Linked DNA regions of Homo sapiens: all the other regions are linked to region 1. The links are contacts of gene promoters, found by promoter capture Hi-C in blood cells and fetal thymus (Javierre and others, 2016). All regions are on one chromosome and are shown on one strand. The core of a region is centred on a gene start or on the middle of the fragment in contact, and the rest is flanking DNA. Distances in the headings are between cores, read along the strand shown.

Evidence for each region. The method cuts DNA at HindIII sites, captures the fragments that hold promoters and counts their contacts. A CHiCAGO score of 5 or more calls a contact.
Region 2: a fragment that was not itself captured here is called in contact with the fragment with the promoter of FBXW7 in region 1 in 1 of 17 cell types (fetal thymus); the score reaches 5.4 in fetal thymus.
Region 3: a contact is called between a fragment that was not itself captured here and the fragment with the promoter of FBXW7 in region 1, in 1 of 17 cell types (total CD8 T cells). The highest score is 5.7, in total CD8 T cells.
Region 4: the fragment with the promoter of LRBA here is called in contact with the fragment with the promoter of FBXW7 in region 1 in 1 of 17 cell types (non-activated CD4 T cells); the score reaches 6.5 in non-activated CD4 T cells.

What each region holds. Positions count from the first base shown.
Region 1 is chr4:152,532,641-152,537,775 of GRCh38, reverse strand. It overlaps FBXW7 (F-box and WD repeat domain containing 7), which reads left to right and starts at 1,684. Exons shown (of 14, transcript NM_001349798.2): 1 at 1,684-2,649; 2 at 2,743-2,835. MIR4453HG (MIR4453 host gene) reads right to left here and starts at 1,512. Exons shown (of 1, transcript NR_033797.2): 1 at 1-1,512. It overlaps MIR4453 (microRNA 4453), which reads right to left and starts at 1,348; the gene lies at 1,260-1,348. RefSeq lists enhancers at 1,389-1,748, 1,454-1,989, 3,239-3,338 and a silencer at 1,859-2,648. The HindIII fragment of the contact is 7,748 bases long and covers 1-5,135 here.
Region 2 is chr4:151,403,944-151,409,730 of GRCh38, reverse strand. FHIP1A-DT (FHIP1A divergent transcript) reads left to right here and starts at 839. Exons shown (of 3, transcript NR_183963.1): 1 at 839-2,548; 2 at 4,123-4,208. FHIP1A (FHF complex subunit HOOK interacting protein 1A) reads right to left here and starts at 555. Exons shown (of 14, transcript NM_001109977.3): 1 at 266-555. RefSeq lists silencers at 596-765, 886-1,358 and enhancers at 585-1,284, 1,285-1,984, 1,816-2,125. The HindIII fragment of the contact is 1,353 bases long and covers 2,797-4,149 here.
Region 3 is chr4:151,113,102-151,118,235 of GRCh38, reverse strand. No RefSeq gene overlaps it. Among named protein-coding and RNA genes, the nearest start is that of SH3D19-AS1, 8.5 kb to the left of the region's middle. The HindIII fragment of the contact is 3,783 bases long and covers 1-3,536 here.
Region 4 is chr4:151,013,037-151,018,612 of GRCh38, reverse strand. It overlaps LRBA (LPS responsive beige-like anchor protein), which reads left to right and starts at 3,329. Exons shown (of 57, transcript NM_001364905.1): 1 at 3,329-3,411; 2 at 3,752-4,186. The coding sequence starts at 3,971. RefSeq lists a silencer at 2,760-2,909 and enhancers at 2,461-3,058, 3,410-3,539, 3,720-3,899. The HindIII fragment of the contact is 17,217 bases long and covers 1-5,576 here.

The sequences.
Region 1 (5,135 bases), core at 435-2,934:
CTGTAGCAGGGGATTGGTCACGTAAAGACAGAAAAATCCAGGGTAATTTAAGCAGGATATTTAACCTGGCTCTTGGAACTTCAGGTCAAGGGCAGTAGGGTCAGGTGCTAGTCTGTGAGTCTCTCCTTGGTTTTGCCACATCCTCCTTTGCCCCTCTCACCACCTTTCCCGCAGCATTTTAATGAACACGAGCCCTTGGATTTACCCAGTTAAAAGTTTCCTTAGTTTACTGTTTGCAGATGGTAGTGGCAGTAGTGGGAGAAACCCAGAGCTTCCCACATTTGTCTATAATACACTTGCTCCTACCTTACCCCCTCCTCCAGGTGGAAAGACTTGTAAAATCCATTACTACTGCTTCCCAAGGAGGTAGAGTGTACTAGGGTCCAGGGACAGAATTGTGGAATCTGCTTTCATCATTGCTGCTGCTTTAATCTTTTTCTCATACTATTCACTGAAGACAGATTTCTGAGGATTCTGGTCCTTTTATCTTAAATTTGTTTTCCTAGAGAACTACACTTTAAACTTCATGAGTTTCTACTTAACTTTCCTTTCCAGGATAACATCTGTAGGAAAAGCTGCATAATAGTAATAACACTTATTTTAGAAAGAAAATAACCTTTGAGTCAGACCTGAAACAGGCCAACATTTCTTGATGACAACGTACACTGATGAACCAAGACCAGAAGCTCTCGAAAGCTCCAAACCGTAAGAAAGAACCATTCGTAAAAGTGAGGGACTATTAAATTCTTCCCCTGACAGTCAAAAATCCTTCAGCAATCTCCCAGAGGATGGCTCCCTTCCAATCCTCCCTTCCCGCCGCCCTAACAATCTGCGCGAGGATGGGTCCCTTCCCTTGCTCGGCATTTCGTCTCCTTTTCCACTAAAGACTCAGGTTGTGACTCTGTACTCAAGCCGCACCCCTGTTTCCTTTCATGGCTAGGGGGAGGGGAGGAATGTATTACAACTCATTTTTACAATGCACTGCAGTTTACAAAGCGCTTGCACTTCCACCATATCCTCTGAGCTTCACGAGTGCCACGTGAGAGAGGCATTCATTCATTCATTCATTCATCAAACATTTGCTCGGCCCGACCACACGTTATCCAACGCTGGGTCTCACCCCACGCCACGGGAAGGGTGGGGCGCTCTCTCCCTGGAGCAGGTGCAGATCAGGCTGTAGGGTAACTCCTCGATCAGTCCGGCTTTTCGAGGGTCTGTTTGGGGCCAAATGCCTCACCTTCGGGTGGTGCGCGCAGCTGCCTGAAGACGCGGCCTGGGCCTCCTCCTTCCTCCCAAAGGAGCAGTCCCCACCTGCCCCGAAGGAAACCGCTACAGACCAAGCTCTCCAGGCCGCCCTCGGGTCAGGGGTAAGATCGGGCGGCAGCTTAGGCTCGACTCGGCTCCTCCCCTTCCTCTCTTCAGTTCTGACGCGGCCGTAGAGGCGGCAGCGGCGGTGGCGGCTGCGAGTCCCGCGGCCCGAGGCGCACCCACCCGCTCGCCGATCCCCACTTCCTCTTCCCTTGGAGCGTCATCAGAGCGCGCCAGAGGCGCCCAGGGCGGGGTGGCTGGAAGGGGGAAAAAGGCCAGCGGAGGAAGCCTCAGAGCGGAAAGAAGAGGGAGGGGGAAGAGAGCGGTTGCTAGGTGACTTGCGTCATCGGCAGGCGCCGCTCTCCTCCCGCCCCTCTCTCTGGAGTGAGGCGAGAGCCCCGCACAGAGCGAGGGAGACAGCGAGCTGAGCTCCGGGCGCTGCCGCTGCCGCTGCCGCCGCCGCCGCCGCTGAGACTGAGAGCGAAGGAGCATCCGAGAGATCCAGTCCCCCTGCACTGGCCGCCGCCGAGACCTTCGCTCTCACCTGGGCCAGCGGGAGCCGCGGCCGCACTCCTTTCCCCCCCTCACCTTCCCGGCCGGCAGCGGCGGCTGCACACGCCGGAGCCGGAGCCAGAGCCGGAGCCCGAGCCTGAGCCGGAGCCGGCGGCTTGGGGGGCAGGGAGGCGGCTACCACGGGCCGGGAGTGGGTAGCTGCTCCGCGGTGAGAGAACGCTGAGGAGGCGCCAGAGCTTCTGCCTCGTCCCGTGGGGCGTGGGGCGAGACCCCCAAGGTGTAGGGAGGGGGGTCCCAGCCGCAGCGACACATGCGGGAGCCGGGAGCGGGGGCGGCGCCGAGCGGAGCCGGCCGGGTCCCTCGCCTTGCCGCCGACTCGGCCACCCGCCCGGGGCCGTAGCATCTTGCCCCGGAGTGTATGAACCGGGGCCCCAACCAAGCTCGGCAACCACCCCCCGGCCGGGGGGGCGGGGACCCCGATGTGAAGCGGCGGCTGGGGCGGCGGAGAGAACAGGACCGACGCCGCCGTCCTTTCCTCACCTTCCCCCTCCCCTCAGCCCCCTCCGGGGGTCTTCTCCCTTGGCCAGTCGCCGGCCCCCCGGCTCCTTGGCTGGACTCCGGGAGGAGTTCCTAGAGCCCCCCTCCCCCGCCCCAGTCCCGAGGGCGGCGGGGCCGGGGGGGACCCGGGGGGCCGGCCGCAGCCTCCACCCAGAGGAAACTTTACAAAAACAAAATCCGGAGTCTCCCAAACCTGACTGTCCCGGGAGAAGTGGCCCTGGACGGGCAGAAGCCGCAGCCTGAAAAGACCCAGGAAGAGGAAAAGAGGAGGTAAGCGGGGCCGCCGCCTCCCCTCCCCTGGCAGCGCGGAAGAGACCCGGGTTGCCGCCTGGTTTAGCGACACGAGCACCGCTTCTTCCTCAGTACCGCGCCGGAGCCTTCCGCAGCTGCCGCTTCAGTCCGAAGGAGGAAGGGAACCAACCCACTTTCTCGGCGCCGCGGCTCTTTTCTAAAAGTGTGAGTGGCCCCGGGAGAGGGAATTGAGGGGGAGAAAGTGGGAGGATGCCGGCGCTTCCTCCTGGAGTTTTGCTGATGTTCTCCAGTAGTGTTGGGAGTCTATCAATGAGGGAGTCTAGCTTTATTCACGGAGGGGGGAAGGTGTTAGGGAGGCCTGTATTTTGTAACTTTTTAGCTCTTTGTACGAGTAATGCAAGTATGCAGGTTTCTGTCGGAGGAGTCTTTTCTCCAAAGTGAATACTCGCACCTTTCTGGCCAGCAGTTGGCAAAGGGAAATTGAGGAAGCCAGAGCATATGTGCGCACAGAGGCCATCTGTATCTGTAACCTTTTCCTGGTACTGTGGGTGTGTGCGGTGTACTTTTTGTTTCGGGGGTACTCTCATATAGGTTCCCGAATGAGAACTACTTAACCTGTGGACCCCTGAAAGTAAAATTCCTTTTTTAAAAAACAACAACAAACCTGTTTTGAGAGAGGTTCATTTCAGTACCTATTGGTACAGGAGTTAACCTTCTCAGTTACTGGGTCCAATTTCATGTGTGTCAGGAGGACACTGTAACAGATGTCAGTTACTCAGGAACTTGAGTTGTTAGGAATCACAACTTACTTGGGGAAGAGCATTTATCACATTAATCATTTTATAAAAGTTGTGATTTTTTCCCTTTCACCCCCCCCTTTTTTTTTTTAGAGTAACAAATTACAGCACTTTTTTATTTGGTTTGAGGCTTTGCTTTTTTGAATTATCTTTATTTCTGTATCAATTTAGGATACATCTTTGATATTTAAGTCAGGAATGATTTTTTCCTTCCATTATTTTAAAGCTGAAGTTTATAAAACCTTTGACTTGTATTTTAGGTATCTTGTCAGAGTACCAAATTAAAGGTTTATGAAAGTAATTAATATTTCATATACAGACCTTAAGGGTTAAACATAGAGCAGAATTTTATGTAAGAAGACATAGACAGTAGTATACTGAGAATTGTGGTCCGTCTAGACAACTGTGGGCTCGTTCTGTCTGAAGCCACTGCTGAGAGATACTTTGTGGGAATGAATGTAAGCCTGGGGTTATCTCTCTTTTCGAAGTTCTCCATTCAGGATCTTGATTAGATTAATTTAAAACTTTCTCAAACTTAACAATGTTTGGTCCTTTTTTTTAAAGTAATGAGTTCTGCAAGTTTATTAGCCTGTGTATTATGTGACAGTTCATTTACATATTCCATACCTGTGTCCCTAAACTTTCAGGACACAGTCAGAGTTTGTGTTTCAAGAATTATCAGGACAAGCCTCAGTTCATCTTTTCTTAATTTTATGGACTTTCATTATTTCTACCATCAGTTTCTCCAACTGTTGTCTTAGAATAATGTCTTTCATTTGACCACTTTTCCCTCCTCTGGAACTTCTCCCACTGAATTGTTTTTCTTTAGTTGCCTTGTTATGCTTTGGTAAGGAACTTTAAATTCTGTCCTTTAAATGTGTACTGACATGAAAATACTGAATAGTGGATGTAATGTTAGAATCAGAGTCACGTATTCTGTTTTTCACTAAGATATTGCAAAGAGAAATGTAGTCATTTTCTAAAATACTGTACCCAAAATACAGTAGAAGCTGTATTTTGGGAAGGAGGGGAGGACAAACTAAGAAACAAACTATAGTTTGAATGTAGGTTGCACTCTGTCAAAGTTGCTTACTAACTTTAGGACCTACTTTTATTGCTTATGGATTGGTTAAAAATTACGGTATTTTTTTTTTTTTTGAGACAGAGTCTTGCTCTGTCACCCAGGCTGGAGTGCAATGGAGCGATCTTGGCTCACTGCAACCTCCGCCTCCCAGGTTCAAGCGATTCTCATGCCTCAGCCTCCCAAATAGCTGGGACTACAGGCATGTGCTACCACGCCTGGCTAATTTTTTTTGTATTTTTAGTAGAGATGGGGTTTCACCATGTGGGTCAGGCTGGTCTAGAACTCCTGACCTCAAATGATCTGCCCACCTCGGCCTCCCAAAGTGCTGGGATTACAGGCGTTGAGACACCGCGTCCTGCCAAAAAATTATGGTAATGTTTTATTGCACGTTTGGGTAGAAATGACAAAGTTTTTGGGGTCCCTGCCTTTGAGATGCTTTTACTTGTAGGTGGTGGAGACAATCAAACACAAATTGCACAAAGCTATAGGAGAGGGGGGATAGACCAATATTTATCTAAGACCGCACTGGATGTTAGATATTGTCAACTTATAGATGTGAATATATTTTTACATTTTTCACTAGGGAAATGTTGCTTTTGGACGTGTACATATAGAACTAATTG
Region 2 (5,787 bases), core at 2,224-4,723, 1.1 Mb after region 1:
GTCAGTCACCGCGTTACGCCCCGTCCCGGAGCCCGAAACCCTAGAAGTCACCTCCTCCCCCCTGCGCCCCCGCCCGACGCAGCGACCTCGTTTGGAACATCCCCAGCCGGCCCCCAGCCCAATGCCTGCTCCCTCAGCCCAATGCCCGCACCCCCTGCCCAGTTGGCGGATGCAGAGAAGGGACATTTCGACTCTCCCTCCTCCTTCAACCCTCTAAAATAAAAGAATCCCTCAAGCGCAAATCTCCGGCCAGCACAGCACCTACCTGTCCCCGGCCGTGGCTCCTCCTCCCCGAGCAGTGGGGCTCGCTGGACAAGTGTCCTCAGATAGTCCAGAAAGTTTGCTCTGCGGTCCCGGGGACGCCTGCGCGGGACCCAGTGAGGAAAGCCGGGCTGGCTCCTCGCACCTCGGGCGGCCGCCGCTCGAAAGTCTTGGCCCAGGTCCTCCAGGCCCGGCTCAAACTCAGGAGTGCCCGGGAAGAATGTAGGTCGTGAGAAGGTCGGAGCGCAACTTTTCGAAGGTGCGTCAGCCGCGGGCTGAGGCGCGTGGGTCACTGCCTCCCCCCAGCCTCTCCCTAGTGAGCGCGGGGGGGGCGGGGGCGGGGGCGGGGGCCGGGGCGGGGCAGGGGCGGGGGTGGGGCCCAACCTGCCTGGAGGCCTCGGGGAGCGCGCCCCGGCCCCGCCCCCGCCGCCGCCGGCCCCGCCTCTGCCGCTGGGACACGCCGCCGCCAGGTGCGCCGGGGACTTAGGCAGTGCCGCGCCGCACGGCCCGCGCCGGTTTCCAAGGTGAAGGAGGAGGAGCCTCTGAGGGAAAGTTTCCACAGAAACTTGAGCTGGGCGCAGTGTAGCACTCGCGCCCTTGGGGGCTAGCGTTTGGCCGGAGCTACACACTCTTTACTCACGCACGCACACCGCCGTACACAGCACAATCGTTCACCGTCCCGCCAAAGGCTCGTCTCTCGGGTTCTGCCTAGTGGAAGGAGTCGGACAACGCCGCACGTCACGGGCGTTTCGGATTTCTTGCTTCCCAAAGGTTTGACGGCGGCCACCGGCGCCCCGGCCCAGCTCTGCTTTCCTTTGCTGACTCCTTCCTTTAGGTGTGAATTTTAAAATGCTGATACCGCCCCAAGAGAGCTGAGTCAAGTGAGGCAAACGTTCGCCTGTTGTTCTCCTGACAGACTCCCTGCAGTGGGCAGGGGAAATGTGGCCTTGGCCGACATTAATGAAGTGCCAGGATGGAGGGAGGGGGCCTGCTGATTTGTTCTGTTTTACTTTTTAAGGGTAACTAGAGCGTTACTGGAGTCGTCTGTGGGTTTGGGGAGTATGTGGCGCGTGTGTGTGTCACACATTTCACTGGCAACTCCCGCCAACCCCTTCCCAAGAAATGAAGGCTCTAATGTGGGCAGTTCTGCAACAAAGGTGAAACTTCCCCAAATCACGATTCCCCGCAAGATGAGAGAGCAGGTGCAGCATCCATTTTCCCACTATCACGCTTGAGATGGTGGCTTTGGGCACTGCCGGGTGCCCCGACATCCTTCCCAGAGCCCAGCCTTCCCACCCAGGCCCGGCCCTGCGCGGCCGCCTGCCTTTGCATCAGAGACCGCGGCTGTGCCATTGCCAAGGTGGGCAGCGCCGCCTCGCTTCCCCATTCCTCCGTCTCCCACGCCTCTTGCGTGTTTGAGTCGCGAAGTGATGGACTTTAAATCTCAGAGGAGGAATGAGAAACTTGGTTAGTGGCTCTCTTGGCATGTTCGTAGCCCTGTGGTTGAAGTGGCTGAAACCTGCGTTGAGCCTCAGTCCAAGCAGCTGGGGCCACACCAGTTTGCAAAAGCGGATGTGGCAGTTTCCACCGCAGCAGCAGCCTGCTGGCGCCTCATCAGATTCTCCTTTGGAGGAAGTATCTTCTTCCCTTCATTCTCGGTGAATGGCATCCAGAGATAACCAAAATCAGGTGTATCTAGTTTCAAGTTCTGTCTTGCAACCGTGATAATTGGAGGATGCAAACTTTACACTTTCTTCTCTAGCTGTCTACCACCACTGCTGCGCTTGTGGATGACTGCAGGAACACCGGGTACTTGCCACAAGTATCTCTCCAGATTCATCAGCCTTTCACCTGTGACAAGCTCAGTCAAGAAGTGGCTCCTAAGTAAAAGCTGGGGAAGAACAAGGAAGATAGAGCTCAGAGTAGAAAGCTGTGAAGTTCTGCACAACAGGTCCCCTTGGCCTGCTCTAACAGTTGGAAGGTGGGGGAAGCATTCATTTACTCAACAAATATATACTGAGTGCCTTTTGCATGCTAGGCACGCTTCTAGGGGTTGAGGACACAGCAGAGAGCACAAACAACAATTCCAGCCCTCGTGGAGCTTACCTCTTCCACGTGGGAAAGACAGATGGTAAATGTATAAGGACAATATATGGACTGCTGTATGATTAGAAATGCTATGGAGAGGCTAGGAGTGCTGTCTCATGCCTGTAATCCCGCAGTTTGGGAGGCCAAAGGAGGAGGATCACTTGAGGCCAGAAGTTGGAGACCCAACCTGGGCAACATAGTAAGACCCCCTATCTACAAAAAGTTTAAAAATTAGCCAGGCATGGTGGCGTGCACCTGTAGTCCTAGCTATCCAGGAGGCTGAGGTGGGAGGATCACTTGAGCCCACTGCATTCCAGCCTGGGTGACAGAGTGAGACCCTGTTTTGAAAGAAAGAAAGAAATGCTGTGGATAAAAATTAAGCAGAGAGGGTACATAGAAAGTATGAGGGGTGCTATGTTCGGAGAGGGGTGATGATCAAGGAAAGCTTCTGGAGGAGGTAACATTTGAGGAACGACTTGAGGGAGGTTAGGGATATCTGAGCAGACAACTTCCCAGGCAGAAAGCATAGCAAATGTAAAGGCCCTGAGGCAGGAGTATGCCTAAGTGTACTAGGAGCAATCCAGAAGGCACCATGAAAGAATGGAGAAGATGAAGTCAAAGAAGTGAAAGGTGGGGGTGATGCAGATCAGGTAAGGCTTTTACTCTGAGTGAGTTGGTTGGAGCCATTGGAGGATTTTGTGTAGAAAAGTGACACTTTCTGACATTGTAATTGGATCACTTTGACTGCTGGGTTAAGAATAAACAGTAGGGTGTAAGGGTAGAAGCACAGAGACTGGTTAAGAGGCTACTAAAATAATCTAGGGTCAGCCGGGTGCGGTGGCTCATGCCTGTAATTCCAGCACTTTGGGAGGCCAAGGTGGGTGGGTCACAAGGTCAGGAGATCAAGACCATCCTGGCCAACATGGTGAAACCCCGCCTCTACTAAAAATACAAAAAATTAGCCAGGTGTGGTGGCACGCACCTGTAGTCCCAGCTACTCAGGAGGCTAAGGCAGGAGAATCACTTGAACTCAGGAGGCGGAGGTTGCAGTGAGTAGAGGTTGCAGTGAGCCGAGATTGCACCACTGCACTCCAGCCTGGGCGACAGAGCGAGACTCCATCTCACAAAAAGATAATAATAATAATTGAGGGACAAGAAGATAGAGATGTGGACCAGAGAAATAGTGGTAGAGATGATAAGCTGATGGTTTCCTCACATTGGATGTGGGGTATAAAGGAAGGAGATGAGAAGGACTCTGAGGCTTTTGGCCTGGGCAGCATAAGGATGGAACTGCTATAACAAAGTTGGAGAAGACTTCAAAAGGAGGTTAGGGTAAAATCAAGGCAGGAAGGAGAGGCGCATAATTTGAATGTGGGCAGCGTAAGGACGGAACTGCTATAACAAAGTTGGAGAAGACTTCAAAAGGAGGTTAGGGTAAAATCAAGGCAGGAAAGGAGAGGCGCATAATTTGAATGGTCTTCAGTTTCTTCAACTTATAAAATGAAAGTAATACCTACTTTGTTAAGGTTGTTTTAGGATGACAAATTAGCATAGTGAAGTGTATAACACAATGCCTAATACATGATAGACACTTAAGAATGTTAGTTCCCTCTCTACAAATATGAATTTCATTCATATCCATTATGCCCTCTGGGAGTGAAACAGACTCATTCTTTTGAGGAAATAAGTCTTGCTAAAGGTAAAGGGGCTGTCTCCTTCTCCCATTCTTGCCATATGACACTGTCTGCTCTCTCTTTGTCTTCCACCATGAAGACAGGCATGGTAGCTCATGTGGAAGCTTCCCGAGGCCCTCACCCAGAAGCAGATGCTGGAGCCATGCTTGTACAGCTTGCAGAACTGTAAGCCAATTAAAACTCTTTTCTTTATAAATTAAAATAGATAAATAAAAATAAAGGATAAGCAGATGTGGTGGTACGGGCCTATAGTCCCAACTGCTTAGGAGGCTGAGGCAGAAGGATCAATTGAGCCCAGGAGGTCGAGGTTGCAGTGAGCTTTGAGTGCCACTGCACGCCCACCTGGGCAACAGAGTGAGACCCTGTCTCTTCTTAAAAAAAAAAAAAGTTGGAAAATATCTATTACATGGAAATATATTTATAATATTGTATAAAGTAAGTCTACTATAAAAGTAAGTGTGTAAAGTAAGATTCTCTTTACAAATATTAATAATGATTATCTCAGCCAGGCATGGTAGCTTATGCCTGTAATCCCAGAACTTTGGGAGGCCGAGGCAGGTGGATCACCTGAGGTCAGGAGTTCGAGACCAGCCTGACCAACAAGGTGAAACCCCGTCTCTACTAAAAATACAACAATTAGCTGGGCGTGTTGGCAGGCGCCTGTAATCCCAGCCACTCGTGAGTCTGAAGCAAGAGAATCACTTGAACCTGGGAGGCGGAGGTTGCAGTGAGCCAAGATTGCACCATTGCACTTCAGCCTAGGCAACAAGAGTGAAACTCCATCTCAAAAAAATCATAATAATAATAATGATTATCTCAGTACTAGGATGACAGTTTATTTTTATTCTCTGTGCTTTTCTCTACTTCCAAGTTTTCTGCCATAGGAAGGTATCACTTTCTCTCAGGAGTGGAATTGCTGGATGATAGGCTGTATATACAATGAGATTTAGTTGATACTGCCAAACAATTTTCCAAAGTGATTATACCAATTTATGCTCCCACTGACAACATATAAGAATTCCAATATGGAGCAGTGCGTTTTTTAACAGCATCATCCAGTTAAACAGCAATTAATTTGAACCTACTGCTTTAGAAGTTAATTAAGCAAAAGTTAAAAATAAGTATATTGGCTGTAAATGCATATATTAGTAACAGTAGCCGTTTCTAAATCATGTTTTTTATTAATGTATTTCATTTTATTCTTTTTGTTTTGTTTTGTTTTGTTTGAGACGGAGTTTCACTCTTTGGTCCAGGCTAGAGTGCAGTGGTGCAATCTCGGCTCACTGCAACCTCCGCCTTCCAGTTTCAAGTGATTCTCCTGCCTTGAAATTGCAATCCCGAGTAGCTGGGATTGCAGGCGCCCACCATCATGCCCAGCTAATTGTTGTATTTTTAGTAGAGATGGGGCTTCACCATGTTGACCAGGCTGGTCTTAAACTCCTGACCTTGTGATCGGCCTGCCTCGGCCTCCCAAAGCGCTGGGATTACAGGCATGAGCCACCATGCCTGGCCCCTCTTTATTCATTTTTTATACTCTTCAGCTCTGTTATTATAGTACTTTAAAGCACTGAAATTATATTTCTTTATTGTAGAAGCCAGTCAAGACTTCTCCCTCTTTTTCTTACCACCTTTATTTCCATTTTAAAATGTAATTATATTTGAAATTACATTTTTTTCAAATTATTAAACGTGTTAAATACTAGATATTCAAGATTACATGAACAAAGGAGAGAAGTATTTCATC
Region 3 (5,134 bases), core at 396-2,895, 1.4 Mb after region 1:
AGTGCAATGGCATGATCTTGGCTCACTGCAGCCTTAGACTCTTGGCCTCAAGTGTTCCTCCCACCTCAGCCTCCCGAGTAACTGGGACTACAGGCATGTGCCACCATATTTGGCTAATTTATTATTTTTTTCATTTTATTTTTTGAGGTGGAGTCTTGCTCTGTTGCCCAGGCTGGAGTGCAATGGCACAATCTGGGCTCACTGCAGCCTCTGCCTCTCAGGTTCAAGTGATTCCCCTGCCTCAGCCTCCTGAGTAGCTAGGATTACGGGCACGCACCACTGTGCCCCGCTAATTTTTTTGTATTTTTAGTAGGGACCAGGTTTCATCATGTTGGCCAGACAGGTCTTGAACTCCTGACCTCAAGTGATCCATCCGCCTCGGCCTCTGAAAGTGCTGGGATTACAGGCGTGAGCCCCGGCATCCAGCCTAATTTTTTATTTTTTGTAAAGACGGGGTTTCACCATGTTACCCAGGCTGGTGTTGAACTCCTGAGCTCAAGCAGTCTTCTCGCCTCGGCCTCTCAAAGTGCTGGGTTTGCAGGCGTGAGCCACCTTGTCCAGCCAACTGAATTTTTTTCAGAACTAACGTGAAGTCATTTTCTAACTTGTGCCTTTTTACTTCACTGTAATTAAAGAAGGAAAAAAAATAGAAAGCCTGACTCAGAACAACACTACCATCTAGGGGCCGCTCTCTTAATTGCGAGCTCATCCTGTTATACCACAGAAGAGAGCCCTTGGAGACCAGAGTTCAACTTGCAGAGGTTAAATGATTTGCCTAAAGTCACAGTTACTTGCAGAGCCTAAAGTAAAACCTATCTCTGCGGATTTCCAATCCAGTTCTTTTTCCGTTTATTATGGCAAAGTGATAACATTTTTTTTAGCAGTTAAACAAGAAGAATTGATCCGTTTCATTGGCCTGTAGTGGTTGTAGCCTCTAATACTTAACGATTAGAAAGAATTACACAGTATGTATTAAAGCCTTGAAGTTTTATCCTTCAGGAAGAAAAGTCCTGTCAGCTTCTTGGTTTTATGTGGACAATTTATATTGATGTTACCTAGAAACTGAAACATGAATGGATCCACTAATGTGGATTCCTTTTTCTCTTTAATAGAAAATATTCAAAAATTTAGAACATCAGATCTTGTACAGCTGTATCTTGTAGGGCTGTGCCCTTGGCAACAGTAGAGCAATCATAAATCTAGATTTTCATTAAAATATAACACAAAACACTGTTATTAGTATTTTGGAGTATAATAGATTAACCAAAGCACTGTTAAGCTGATAGATTTATATTTCAGAGTCTGAGACATATTCTGATTTTTTTAAAGGAATTCTAATTATATGTATACCATGGATTATTTATCTTCAAGTACTGTAAATTAGGCAATAATTAAATGAAATATTTGGTTGTCTATGTTTCACAAAAATTAACTAACAATACCAAAATATTGGCCTCTGGCTGAGCACTATGACTCACGCCTGTAATCTCAGCACTTTGGGAGGCCAAGGCGGGTGGATAACCTGAGGTCAGGAGTTCAAAACCAGCCTGGCCAACATGGTGAAACCCTGTCTCTACTAAAAATACAAAAATTAGCCAGGCTATGGTGGCGTGGGCCTGTAATCCCAGCTACTGGGTGAGGCAGGAGAATTGCGCAAACCTGGGAAATGGAGGTTGCAGTGAGCTGAGATTATGCCACTGCACTGCAGTCTGGGCAACAGAGAGTGACACCATCTCAAAAAAAAAATGTGTGTGTGTGTATATATACATATATGTATATATGTGTATGTGTATATGTATGTGTGTATACATGTATGTGTGTATGAATGTATACGCATATGTATATGTGTGTACACGTGTGTATATATACATATGTATGTGTATGCATAGTATATACATACATGTGTATATATACATATGTATGTATATGCATAGTGTATACATACATATGTATGTATATGCAGTGTATACATACATATGTATACATACGTATGTGTATATGTATATATACGTATACATGTATACATGCATGCATTTATACATATGTATGCACATATATACATATACACATATGTGTATACACATACACACACTTTAAATATATACATACATATACACATACGTATGTATGCGTGTATGTATATACATATACACATACATATATACATATACGTATACACAAATGTATATGTGGTAATATACACATATATACTTACATATACATGCACATATACACATATATATACATACACATATATACGTGTATATACATATATGTATCAAAAAAATAATAATAGGGCCGGGATGGATGTTATACACTTCTAGGAGCTGACACCTGCAATAATTTTTCTGCCTTGACTTCTTTTTTTTTTTTTTTTTCTGAGACGTAGTTTTGCCCTTGCTGCCCAGGCTGGAGTCCAATGGTGCGATCTTGGCTCACTGCAACCTCTGCCCCCAGGTTCCAGCAATTCTCGTGCCTCAGCCTCCGAAGTAGCTAGGATTAGAGGTGCCCGCCACCACGCTTTGCTAGTTTTTTGTATCTGTATTTTTATTTTTGAGATGGAGTTTCGCTCGTCAACCCAGGCTGGAGTGCAATGGTGTGATTTTGGCTCACCGCAACCTCTGCCTCCTGGGTTGAAGCAATTCTCCTGCCTCAGCCTCCCAAGTAGCTGGGATTACAGGTGCCCACCACCATGCCCAGCTAATTTTTATATTTTTAGTAAAGACAGGATTTCACCATGTTGGTCAGGCTGGTCTCAAACTCATGACCTCAGGTGATCCACCCGCCTTGGCCTCCCAAAGTGCTGGGATTATAGGCATGAGCCACCGTGCCCAGCCAATTTTTTGTATTTTTAGTAGACATGGAGTTTCGCCACTTTGGCCAGGCTGGTCTTGAACTCCTGTCCTCAGGTGATCCACCCGCCTCACCCTCCCAAAGTACTGGGATTACAGGTGTGAGCCACCGCACCCAGCCCTACTTTGACTTCTTAAATGATCTTAGCAAATGGAAACTCATTACCCTTCATAGCTGTCACACTTGCATTGCCTATCACAGCGTTACGTCAGAGAATTAATGACTCATTAAATTGGTATGACTGGATATTTAAAGATACTAAAGATTATTACTGAAATTTGGAGCTGTGTTAATAGGATTTTGGTTACATTTCTTTTTAAGAAATCATTTCAGAGATACATGATGAAATATTTACATTTGATAAGTTAAATTTGCTTCAAATAATTGAGGAGGAGAAATTGTCAGGAACTGTGCAGTGTTTGACATTTTACCCAACTTGTAAGCTAAACATTTAGCCTGGCATGGTTTCATGGATGTTAGCAGAAGACATGAGACTTCTGGGACAGGAGCAAAACACTTCATGATAGCAAAAGTGAGAACCAGAGTTTCGTGTTCTTATGTGTCAGTTTCCCATACCCCACCAAATCCCGAGGAGGTGATGCAAAGGGCCCATTATACAGTGAGTTGTGTGACAGGAGAGGAACACTGAGATCCACCACTTTTATAGCAAATGGAAGCAAGCTTGCTTTTTTTCCTGGGGGAGACGTTACCTCATCCTTCAAGGTTGCTCACAAGGGTGCAAACACAGCCCTGAGAAGTGGCCAGGGTAAAGAACAGTCAAGGGATTGTATTCTTGGCATACTCAGCAAGAATGTGCAGAGACACTTAGGGTATACAGCACATTGCCTCTGTCACTATTCACTCCTCAGCCTGACACATTCTTGGCCAAACTTAAATTTTTACACAAGTGTGCTACTCTGACAACCACTTCGATTAAGCTAACCAACAGAAGCCAGAACCAAATCCACTCAGTTTGTCTCACATGACGTTTAATTAAGTCTATTATCAAGACTCAAAGCAGCAGATGAAGCCAACCTGCAGTATTGATCTCAGTCTTACTCTCCAGGGTCCCAGACAGCTTACTGTGAATAATCTCAGGGAGTACCAGTAGGTCTGATTTTAGGCAGCCATGAGGTATTCTAGGGCCAGGGTATTTTATTCATTAAGACCTGTACAGAGTTTAAACTGATCTGTTAATCTCTGGTGTCGCTGCAATAATTAGACAATTGATGGGCCAGAAAGCGACCTCTGTCCTTAATGGGGAGACATCTCATGACCCATTTTTCTCCTACCCATTTTTCCCCTATATACCAAAATATAACCCCAAAGGACACAAGTCACTTTGGTTCAGGACTCGTTGCTAAACCTGATTTGTATCATCACATTGGTTAAGTCACAGGGGCAGTGTCACCAAATAGCTGCAGCTTCGGTTGCCATATACGGTATTACCCAAGACCACTCAGGCGTCAAAAGCATATGATCAGTCAGATTGAATCAAGGTTGTGTTGGTCCTGATGTCTGTATACATTCGAATTTGGGTGCTGTTGTTGATGGTATCAGGCACAGCAGAACAGTGCAGGACTGACCATGTTTATGAGAGATTTTCGTTTTCATAGCACATTTCATGGTGGTCTGGACAAGCCCAGCAGCAGGTCAGACTGTTAGCTGCAGCTGCCACTTGATTCAGGTAGTGGTTTTGAATCAAGGGCAGTGGTTCCAGCTGGGGGCAGTTTTGCCCTCCAGGGGACATTTGGCAATGTCTGAGCCATTTTTATTTGTCACAACTAGAGGGAAGGTGCTACTGGCATCTAGTGGGTAGAGGCCAGTGTAACTGCTAAACAACGAATTATCTGGCCTAAAATATTAATAGTGCCAAGGTTGAGAAACTGACCTAGGGAACAAATTGTGCATTAATTATTTCCCTTCCAGCTAGGCATGGTGGTTCACACCTGTAATCCCAGCACTCTGGGAGGCTGAGGCAGAAGGATCGCTTGAGCCAGGAGTTTTAAGACCAGCCTGGGTCTTAATATGACACATTAGTTTCAAGAGCTGTAATTGTATGGTCAAAGTCAGTTGGTCAGACCGAAACAGCAACGTCATAGCCTAAGAAGGTCTTAACAGCAGTCAGCCCCTCCGCCATGAGTTGCCCTAACAGGAGGTCAAATGGCCAGTGTAGTCAGTCAGTTAGGAGCAAGCGGGCCCATGTCCTGTATAGTATGGCCTTATTTACCTCCAGACAAATGGGATAACTTTAGCAGGGGTCACCAAGACTGGCATGCAT
Region 4 (5,576 bases), core at 2,080-4,579, 1.5 Mb after region 1:
ATAGTTGACAATTTGTGCATATATATATATATATATATATATATATATGTATTTTTTTTTAGATGGAGTTTCTGCTCTTACTGCCCGGGCTGGAGGGCAAAGGTGTGGTCGTGGCTCATTGCAACCTCTGCCTCCCGGGTTCAAGCGATTCTTCTGCCTCAGCCTCCAAGTAGCTGGGATTACAGGCACCCACCACAACGCCTGGCTATTTTTTTGTATTTTTAGTAGAGATGGGGTTTCACCATGTTGGCCAGGCTGGTCTCAAACTCCTGACCTCAGGTGATCTGCCTGCCTCAGCCTCCCAAAGTGCTGTGATTACAGGCAGGAGCCACTGTACCCGGCATTTAGAAATATTTGGTTAATTGTCTGTGTTCATTGTTTCATCAGTAGAACAGCATTAACAGTGAGCTTGCAAATTTATGAGCTACAAACCTTAGCCCTAGATCATTTAGACTGTGATCACTCTGTGTTGGGGGCATTTTCATTATTATCATCTGCTTCTTAATGGAAGACATTTATTCATTTAACAAATACTTAATTAGCACTTATATGACAGATATATTAACACACCATTTGCCCCATCTGAGGAGACAAACTCCGATGAGAGGCCTTTTAGGATTAATGCCTCACTTTAGAAATACGGATGTGTGAAAGGTCAAGTGAAAGTTGTGTCTCTTCTGCAGGCACACCCTACTCCCCCTTATTCCAGAGTTATTCATTAATGATGTGAAACAAACTTGAGGTGTTTAGTTTTTCAGAGATTTCAGAAATGGGAAGCCACTGATGTCGCCTTTTACTTTGGAAATGTGTTGGCAATTCGGATCATCAGAAAGATGTCTGCTTCATCTCTGGAATATCTAAGTCTACTTACAGAAAACAAATCTTTAACAAACATTTGCAACCACATGAGATTTGGTGCAGTTGAATTCATTTTAGTATTTTTAAAACGTGTAACACTTTTCTAAAGAAAATATCCCCTTGCTTGTTCTTCTGCTTCTTTTTTAAAAAAATAGAGACCTTGGTCGGGTACGGTGGCTCACACCTGTAATCTCAGCACTTCGGGAGGCTGAGACGGGCAGATCACCTAAGGTCAGGAGTTTGAGACCAGCCTGGCCAACATGGTGAAACCCCACCTCTACCAAAAATACAAAAATTAGGCGGGCTTGTAATAAAAATAAAAAAAATTAGCGCATGCCTGTAATCCCAGCTACTTGGGAGGCTGAGGCAGGAGAATCGCTGGAGCCCGGGAGGCAGAGGTTAAGGTGAGCCGAGATTGCGCCATTGCACTCCAGCCTGGGCAACAAGAGCGAAACTCCGTTTAAAAAAAAAAAAAAAAAAAGAGCACGGGTCTTGCTGTTGCCTAGGCTAGTCTCAAGTGATCCTCCTGCACTAGCCTCCTAAAGTGTTGGGATGACAGGTGTGAGCTACTACACCCAGCCCTCCCTTGCTTTTTGCGTCTGTTACCTTTTTCTTCCCAAATTTCCATGTGAGAGTTAAAATTGTCTTTTTTTTTTTTTTTTTTTGAGACAGAATCTCGCTCTTCCTCTGTCACCCAGGCTGGAGTGCAGTGGCAATTCTCCTGCCTCAGCCTCCCGAGTAGCTGGGATTACAGGCGCCTACCACCATGCCTGGCTAATTTTTGTATTTTTAGTAGAGACGGGGGTTTCACCATATTGGTCAGGCTGGTCTTGAACTCCTGACCTCAGGCAATCCATCTGCTTGGGCCTCCCAAAGTGCTGGGATTACAGGCGTGAGCCACCGCGCCCGGCTTCTGTCCACTTCTCAAGGCCATCTCAAATAACTTTTTCTTCAGGAAACTATTTCTCAAACCACTATAATTTTTTCCTAAGTTCTCTAGAATTCTTCCTTTGTTTAATCCCACTTTTTGCTTCACTTTCATTTTAGGAGCTAGGCGTATTTTTAAAAAGGCCCTTTGACCTCAAAGGATACACGTGGGTGAAAAACCACCTTCCTCTAAATTTATTTTTCACTCACTAGGAAGAATGGTTTACTGTTAATAGCGGGTGGAAAGAAGGGACACTGAGTATGAGGACCTATCTGTACTACCTAATATAATTTATCTTTTGATCTACTCTGAGAATGACGCGAGCCTAATCTTCACATTGGAAAATCACGAGAGGAAAAAACCCTTCGGAGGTCTACAGGCACAAGGAACCCTGTCTCCACGCTGTTTATAGCAGCTGTCTCAGGAATCCTCTGCCTAGAATGAATGTGGGAGAGGTTTCGTGGCGCGGCAGCTGCAAAGCAAGGAATCTTTCCCATTCCTCGTCGACTCGGTCCCCTCCCCTCCCCTCCCGAATGGCGGCAGCTGCCGAGGTATCCCAGTGGAAATCTCCAAGTCTCCGCCGAGAGCGGCGGGCGGGCAACAGCTGAAAGCAGCCAGGGGTGGGGACTCCTCGCTCCCATTGGGCAGGGACAGCAGCCTCACTGGCTCCAGCGCCGTCACCTCTCTGGCTCGTAGAGGTGCCTCAGGTGTTCTTCTCCAAGTCCAATGAGACACCTAGGCAACGCAGCGCGTGTTCCCTCCGCGCCAAGAGACCCTACGGTAACTTAACAACAGCAGGAGCGCCAAAATCCCCGCCTCAGGACTTGGCAGAAGCACCTCCCGAGGTCCGAGAGTGGGAGAGGGGAAAGTGTAGGCCCTCGGACGGAAGGGTCTCTCCTCGCCGGGCCGGGTACACACCTGGTGCTACCAGAGCAGCGCGCCTAGTGCAGCCGGAAGCCCCAGCCCAGCACTCCGGCTGGCTCGGGGCCCCCTTGGCTGTCCGCGCGTCGTCACCGCGCCCCCGCCGCGCGGCTGCCTCCGCCTTCGCGCCCTCCCGCCCCGCGCACTCGCGCTCGCGCACGCGCACGCCGCGCCCGGCAGCACTCGGCGCTGTCATGGCGGCCGGGAGCAGCTTCAGTGGGCACACGACAGCCGCGCGACCCGTGGCGGGGCGAGCTGTGGCAGTAGCATCCTCACCACTCGCAGCAGCCTCAGCCGCGGCGCCCGTAGCGCCAGCAGCGGCTGCTTTTGCAAAGGCTGAGCGCAGGGGCGGGGCGGGCCAGGAAGCCATGGAGTTCTGTGCAGCCGCGGACTCCCGGGGAGCGGACTAGGGAAACTTGGAGGCTGCGACCAGGTGCACTGACCTCTCTGTCCTCCCTTCTCTCCCTGCGGTGGCCGCTGGGTTTCTCTGGCCGCTCCCCTCCCTTCCTGCCACCACACACACCTCCCCACCCCTTCCCGTCGAATCTCAGGTGCCTGAGAGAGGTGCTTCACTCCTCCCACTGGGCCGAGCATTTAGAATAATCACCGCCCCCTTCCCCCGCCTTTTCCTGCCCTGGATCTCCGCCGCCACCTCGGTCTCGCTGCTCCTGGGCGGGGGGTGAGGACGAGTCCGGAGTATCTGGGTGAGGAAGAACTTTCTACCTCTGTGATAGCTTGTGGGCCCCCCTTCTTTCCTCCGATCCCTCCTTTCCCCGCGACAGTTTCTCTTTCTAGTGCACCTGTGAGGAGAGGTTACCCTGCGCCTAGAACCTGCACGAGAGTGGGGGAGGAGTGAGCCTGTTCGGGGGCCTCTTGGACCTGCCTTCACCCAGAACCCAGCTTTTTGAGCCCGGGAGAAGCGGGTGGCTAGTAGTGGGGTGCCTTTAGTAACTTACTTGACCGACAATAACTATTTCCCTCTTGTCCCCTCAAAACCCTAAAACAAAACCTAGCCTATTTAACATATATTTAATCTTCCAATAGGGTTTGGCGTTGTTGTCAGCCTCGGGGAGAGAGATTGGACAAATATTCTCCAAGAGGAGGAGGGCGACGCCAAGGACTTTCCACATCAACTGCTTTGGGGTATCTCCACAAGTTGGAAGAGGGACCCTTTCGTTTTGCATTGCGTGTGTTGTGCTCATTACCAGTGCAGCGACTGCCGTCCCAGGGTGACTCTGAGTTGTCCTTTATCGTGAGCTAGCAATGGCTAGCGAAGACAATCGTGTCCCTTCCCCGCCACCAACAGGTGATGACGGGGGAGGTGGAGGGAGAGAAGAAACCCCTACTGAAGGGGGTGCATTGTCTCTGAAACCAGGGCTCCCCATCAGGGGCATCAGAATGAAATTTGCCGTGTTGACCGGTTTGGTTGAAGTTGGAGAAGTATCCAATAGGGATATTGTAGAAACTGTCTTTAACCTGGTAAGTCCATGAATATTTTATAAGCATATACTCTTTTCAGTGGGTTGGGGAACAAGATCTTAAAGCTGGAGCCATGTGGTTTACTCACACTGATGGTGACTTTTTTCGTGTATAGGGACACAAAATTCTACTCACCTAAATGAAACAATTTCATCTGTTTTTTAGATTGAAGGGAATTGTGCAAACTTAGATGATCCAGGTTTTGTGAAAGTGAACACATCACTTTTGTGCTAAGGAAATAATTGTTGCTATGGAAGTATTGGGGGGAGGTTCTAGCGGAGGAGTTATCTCTAATTTTTTTTTTCTTGGCTTGTATGCCTAAGTCTGCGTTTCCCTTTACCACTTTAAATAATTTCTTGTGACCTTTTTTTGGACTTGAGAATTAATGTCTTTGATTCTGTCGAAGTTATGTTTTGCTACAATAAGTTTAAAAATTTGTTTGTAGTGCTGATGCAAGATTAATTTGCTGCAAAGTTAGTATTTTTAATTTTGACTAGTTTTATTTTTAGACATAACTAACAAAAGTTAAATTGGTGATGAATTTAGGATTGCATTTAAAGTAATCTTGTGAAAATTGAATGGCAATATGAAAAAAGGAATTGAAGCAGATACAGTATAATTTTTATGTGTTTTATAAATTCATGTCTAGCAGGAAAGCATAGTTAGTCATTGGAAGTTGCTGATTATACTAAGATGAGCTATGAATGCTTTTTTTCGGGTGGGGGTGGGAGGGGGATGAGGCCTCTCTATGTTGCCCAGGCTGTTCTCAAACTCCTAAGTTCAAGCTATCCTCCTGCTTCAGTCTTATGAGTAGTTGTGGCTATAGGCATGCATCACTGTATAGGGCTTAAATTGTTTTTAAATTGAGGTATAATTCATATATTATACAATTCTACCTTTAATTAATTCATTAACTTATTTATTTAGAGATGAGGTCTCACTCTGTTGCCTAGGCTAGTTTTGAATTCCTGGGTTCAGGCGATTCTCCCCTCTTGTCTCCTAAGTAGCTGGAACTACTGGCATGCGCCATTGTGCCTGGCTTGGTTATCATTTATAATGGAGACTTTTTAGATTTCTTTATTCCAGCCTCTCTTGCCCATCAACTTAAAGAATCAAAAGGAAATCTGGCCCTAAAATACTTCCCCCTTTTCTACCTACCCACCTGTGTTAGAGGATAACAGGACCAAATATAAACATGCAGTTAATTGTAATAACTGTTTAGCACCTTTCCCTTTGCCTCTTTTCAAGGTTAGGCTTGTTTTATTCTGGGGCAGTTAATTATTTCTTTCACTAGACCTTCTCTAATGGTCTGGTCACCTGCAGTACAACTTCTAGAATAAGAAAGTAGCTAGATGGAATTCTGGCCGGGCGTGGTGACTCACGCCTGTAA